2 separate regions of the Homo sapiens genome follow, and region 1 is linked to region 2. The links are contacts of gene promoters, found by promoter capture Hi-C in human tissues and cell types (Jung and others, 2019). All regions are on one chromosome and are shown on one strand. The core of a region is centred on a gene start or on the middle of the fragment in contact, and the rest is flanking DNA. Distances in the headings are between cores, read along the strand shown.

The links. Contacts are between HindIII fragments. The study calls those that stand out against the background at their distance.
Region 1: a fragment that was not itself captured here is called in contact with the fragment with the promoter of ELOVL3 in region 2 in 2 of the 25 tissues and cell types used here (IMR-90 fibroblasts and dorsolateral prefrontal cortex).

What each region holds. Positions count from the first base shown.
Region 1 is chr10:102,307,696-102,310,720 of GRCh38, forward strand. The region is part of intron 3 of GBF1 (golgi brefeldin A resistant guanine nucleotide exchange factor 1); the gene reads left to right. Among named protein-coding and RNA genes, the nearest start is that of GBF1, 64 kb to the left of the region's middle. The HindIII fragment of the contact is 4,534 bases long and covers 1-3,025 here.
Region 2 is chr10:102,225,047-102,227,957 of GRCh38, forward strand. It overlaps ELOVL3 (ELOVL fatty acid elongase 3), which reads left to right and starts at 1,253. Exons shown (of 4, transcript NM_152310.3): 1 at 1,253-1,603; 2 at 2,580-2,711. The coding sequence starts at 1,503. RefSeq lists a silencer at 1,235-1,284. The HindIII fragment of the contact is 12,375 bases long and covers 1-1,765 here.

The DNA.
Region 1 (3,025 bases), core at 148-2,647, 83 kb after region 2:
CAGCAGAATGGCGTGAACCCGGGAGGCAGAGTTGCAACGAGCCGAGATCGCGCCATTGCACTCCAGCCTGACTGAGTGACAGAGCAAGACGCCGTCTCAAAAAAAACAAAAAAAACAAAAAATCAGATTTCCCAGTAGGAAAATGGGAGAAAGACTTGAACAGACATTCACAATAGAGGATACCTAAATAATCAGTAAACATAAGAAAAGGTGCTCAACTTCATTAGTCATTAGGGAACTTCAAAACCACCATAGAATACTACTACACATAGAGCAAAATAGCAAAAATGAAAAAGATACACAATATCAAGTGATAGCAAGGATGTGGAGTAACTCAGACTTTCATACCCTAAGGGTAAATAGGGTAAATTGGAAAGCTGGCTGCATCTACAAGAGCTGATTTGCCAGCAATTACATTTCTAAGAATATGCCCAGCAGGTAATCATATATATGTTCACCAAAAGATGTTTATGAGAATGTTTATAGCAGTGTTGTTCACAGAAGCTAAAAAAAAAAAAAAAAAAGAGGAAACTGCCCAAATCTCCATCAGAAATAAAATGGATAAGTAAAATGTGAAAATTCTCATAGTGGAATACTATAAATAAATGAGAATTAGTAAACTACAATATCTTACAACACAGATGACTTTCTCCAGCATAATATTGAGTGAAAGAAGCCAATCCATACCCAAAAGACTATAAATCATGCTGCTATAAAGACACACGCACACGTATGTTTATTGCGGCACTATTCCCAATAGCAAAGACTTGGAACCAACCCAAGTGTCCAACAGTGATAGACCGGATTAAGAAAATGTGGCACATATACACCATGGAATACTATGCAGCCATAAAAAATGATGAGTTCATGTCCTTTGTAGGGACATGGATGAAATTGGAAATCATCATTCTCAGTAAACTATCGCAAGGACAAAAAACCAAACACCACATGTTCTCACTCATAGGTGGGAATTGAACAATGAGAACACATGGACACAGGAAGGGGAACATCACACTCTGGGGACTGTTGTGGGGTAGGGGGAGGGGGGAGGGATAGCATTAGGAGATACACCTAATGCTAAATGATGAGTTAATGGGTGCAGCACACCAGCATGGCACATGTATACATATGTAACTAACCTGCACATTGTGCACATGTACCCTAAAACTTAAAGTATAATAATAATAAAATTAAAAAAAAAAAGAAGCCAAACCAAAGGAGCTTCTACTTCATGATGCCATTTATGTAAAGTTCAGGCAGAGAAAATCAGTGGTTTAAGAAGTTAGAATAATGATTATCTTTGGAGGGATTGCAACTGGAAGAAGTCATGATTGGGATTTCTGGGTCCTAATAGTGCTCTGTGTCTTGATCTGAGTGCCGACTACATGAGTGGTTAGGTTTGCAAAATTCATTGAGTTATGCACTTAATGGTGTTGTCTTATTAGAGCTGATGGAGGAGAGAGGGCTTCAATTTGCACAACTGAGTAATCAGCTAGGCCCAGTCACTAGGTGAACAACTTACTGCTACCAATCAGCCTTAGAGCAGGAATCAAACTCATGTCTCAGAAAAGTTATTAATTACAGCTTGTCTTGGGACTTCCTTCAGAGTCACTCTTGAATAGCTGAAATAGTAAATGTTAAATCTGTGGATGCAAGTGTGTAAATTATTTTAGTCATCAGCTCTAATAAGATGGCCTTTGGGGAAATGAGTATAAGGTCACGAAAATGAAATGGCAAGAAGGAGGTCTACTATTTCTTCTGTAATACTGATTTTTACCCCATCAGGGTCAGTCCCCAGAGGTTGTAAATGTGAAGCTTGTTCTTTTTCTTTAGTAAGCTGAGTTTGTGGCTTTTTAAAGCTTTGCTTCACTGTTCTCATTTGTAAGTGAGATATTGCTTGTTCACCTCCCATAGCTGATGAGGAGATTCTTGTGCACTGTATTTGTTGAGATAAGGCTGGTTTGGGGTTTTGTTTTCATCTTTGTTTTTTAGTTAAATCATAACCTAGTTATGATTTTTGTGTGTCCTTGTTTATGGATCTGGAATTTAATTCATTATTAGTTGTAGAATGAAAGGTAAGATTTTGTTTTACTCTTCTCCTGAATTTTCTCCCCATTCTAGATCTGTTGGCATAAAATTTTAACCAGAAGCTAATTTAGTGATGCTGAGTTAGTCCTAGAAATTAGTTTCAATTCTAGTGTTAATATAGTCTGGGTTTCTAAGTTGTAGAAAAATCTCATTTTTTGGTTCTTGGTTTTCATTTGTATAATTTAGGGAAAATACAACCAACTGTATTTTAAACATATATAGTCCTCATCTTTTCTGTTGGGCTTGAAGAGTTGTACTGGGTATTATGGAACTGGAAAGAAGCCATGTGGATAGTTACGGTATTTAGGTGGATTTGTTGTTGGTAGAAGTGGTGAATTGGAAAAGTGATAGGGTACATATGTTTCGCCTTCAAGGCAAGTCTATTCTTACTGTTTGATGTCAGAGTAAAAAGTGTCAGTAGCTGAAAAAGACAAAAGAATCTTGACAGAGTGGGAAAAGTCGTGCCTCATGTTCTATTGATCAAAAGGAGGTTATATTTTCAAACTAGCTTCCTAAGATGAAATTGAAGCTGTACATGTGCCCTACTTATCCTTGTTTTTCCTGATTTTGGTTTTTCAGATTATTCCTATTAAACATGATATGCTGATTAGCACTGAATATTTTAGGTCTGCTACGCCTGTATTAGTTGAGATTCCTCTTAATTTGTGTTAGATCTCTGTTAGGTCATTTCTACTGCTGGCATTCCCTAGACTAGAGGCCTGCACGCACATTTGTATTCTAATGAGTATAAGCACTAGGTGTTTTTCTTGGCACTAAGAAAACCTTGCAGCATCATTAACCTAGGAGAGATTTGGGGTTTACACATTAACTATGGGAGGTTGATCAGTTTGTGGCCTATACACCAAGACTGTTCTTTATCACCCCCAAGCCACATTTGAGCAGGGATTGAGGAAGGGGTTGATTTTTCTGTTTATTA
Region 2 (2,911 bases), core at 3-2,502:
GAGACAACCTATAGGACCAGAATCTCTGCAGTTGAGGCTCAGGAATCTGGTAATCAGCCAGGTATAGGAACTCTTTTCTGATTGCAATGCAGTGAAGAGCAGAAGCACTGTATTAGAGAAAGAGGCAGTGCAACCAGGTAACGTGACCAGGTGAGAAGTGATGAGGTACAGAGACAAAGAGATGCACTTTTGAGTCACTTAGATGGCACTGATAGGACTTCCACTACACCCTCGCATAGACAGTGGCTGAGGTTCAGGAAATAGAGCTGGGGTTCCTACTTGGATCCTCTGGCTCTAGAGCTTTACTGCACATAGCCATTTATACCCACATCTTGATTTTAATTATTTTATATCTATGTTTCTTAGCACTTTTTGCAAATTTCCACCTTATCTCAAACTGCCCTCAAGCCTTGTATTTCTCCTTCGCTTTCATAAAACCTAGGAAAGAAATAAGGGACAGCCAAGTAAAACTTTTAAAAGTTTTAGAACATTTATTTCTTTGGGGCTGGTTACACAGGCGAGAAAGAAGTAGATTTGGTTAGGGAGAGAAAACAACAGGCCTTGGGGAGATACACTGGCTCTCCCCCTCCCTAAACCCTAAGAGGCCTCCAGGAAACCTGAAGACAATAATTCCAGAAGCCCAGAGGGTGACCCCATTTCCTCTCTCCATGGTTATTACTGTCAGTCTGGAGCAGTTCAGGAATTCAGGAAACTATAAAGAAACCACAACAGCCTCAACAACCCAAACATCAACATCAACAACCTCAACAATAAAACTCCTTAAAATTCATCTCCTTCCACCCACTCACAACCGCAGACTCGAAGCTAGGAGGTGGAAGGGACTACAGAAGCTCTGCGTTGCCCAGGTTAGTATTTGCTCATCACAGGCCTGGGTTTCCCAGGATCTCAGGGAGCCTGGAAACTGACGCCTCCATTTCTGGGTGGGAGCACCAAAGCCTAAGGACACCTTTCCTCTCTCTTCACTGCTAAGCAGGTCAAGATTAAAGCAAACCGAGGCAAAGGCCACGGTTGACAGTTCCAAGGGAACCCGCAAGGCCGCACAGGATGGGGTGGACGTTTTACGGGAGAAAAGGCTGGGGAAGTGGGCGGGCGATGGCCTACGACGGGACTTGGGGCGGGGTGTGCGAAACGCCTGGCAGGCGGGCCCTTGAGTATGACCAATCAGAATGCGGACTGCGTCCCAGGGGCGGAGCAGAGGCGTATCTTGGTCGAGATTGGATAGCGGCGGGGCGCAGGAAAGAGGTCGCGCCAGCCCGGGCAGGCAGCTTTGCAAGTCCGCGTTATATATCGCAGTGGCTGCGCCCGGGATAGCTGGCTGCGCCGCCGCGCACATGCCTAGGTTCGACGCCCTCCTCCCTTTGCCCAGGAGTTCCTTCTGTCCCGGCTCTGTTCCGTCTCGCCCCGAGGTTCACGCCATCCTCGGAGCCCCAGCCTTTCACCCAGCGCCTCCAAGCTTTGGACCTTGACTTCTGCAAAACTAGATGGTCACAGCCATGAATGTCTCACATGAAGTAAATCAGCTGTTCCAGCCCTATAACTTCGAGCTGTCCAAGGACATGAGGCCCTTTTTCGAGGAGTATTGGTGAGACTTTGGGAGAGGGAAAGGCCATGCCAGGGCCCCGGGGCCGGGGCGCGAGGGGGTGGCATTGAATGCCCACAATGATTTTCTTACAGAGCAGAGTTATGGGACTCCCTTGTACTGGCTTCACACTACCTTTGTCCGAGGTGCAGGTAGTATGTGGCACCTCAAAGAGATTAGAGCTGAAAGCAAGCAAGCAGAAATAAGAGGATGAGGGAGAACGTGGAAATATACAGAAGTCAAAGAGAGCGTGTAGTGAGAAGGGTCTTGGAGGCGTGAGGTTGATCTGAAGCCTTACTAGATGACTTCCCCGTCCTTTGTGGCTGTGTGTGCGCGCGTGTGTGCACAGTGCAGGGCCCGGGGGACAGCCTGCCCTTTACAATTATCCCATCGTTCCCCAGGTGCTCCACCGTTCCTGCTGTGGAGAAGGAGGCGAAGTCAGAGAGCTCTTCCAAGCTTTCCCCAGGAAGAGCTCTCTGGCTTTGCCTTAAAGCTCCCCAGAGGTTTTGGAGGCTGACTTTATGCTCCAACCAATTTGCCATACCCCAGCCAGGGAGAAGCTATTGCCACATTCTTCTTACGCCACAGCCCTGGTATGCTTCTAGGAGCCCCAACCAGGGAGAAGCTATTGCCACACTTCTTACACCACAGCCCTGGGCTGCTTCTAGGCGCGGGCCAGACAGCCGTCACCCACCTCTAACCCCACTGAGAGAGCAATAATCACAGAAACCTTGGACATAGCTCCTGCCCTGTGCTAGATACTTTGTATACGTTAATACCCCCAGGAGAGATGTAGTATTCGCGCTCTACAAATGAGGAAGCCAAGGCTCAGAGAATTAAGTTGGTTTTTCCAATGTCACATAGCTAGTAAGTGGCAGAACTGGGACTCCAACCCAGAGCACTCACCTGGAGAGATGAGTGGGCATTTCTCTAATCAGCACCCACCCATGAGCCCATCCCTCTGCCTTCTGCTTGCCAGGGCAACCTCATTCCCCATAGCCCTGATCTACCTGGTTCTCATCGCTGTGGGGCAGAACTACATGAAGGAACGCAAGGGCTTCAACCTGCAAGGGCCTCTCATCCTCTGGTCCTTCTGCCTTGCAATCTTCAGGTAAGACCCCATCCCACTCCCTGCCTCTTCTCTAGATCTTAGACCACCATTCTATCCCTTGAAGCTTTCCCGATTGCATCAACCTCCATCCTGTCCCCAAGTTGCCTTGTAACACTCTCCCCATCTCATTCTCGGCTTTAGTTCCCCTCCCAGCCTTCACCCTCTTCTGTTATATTATCCTGTTTTCCTTCTCTTTTAGA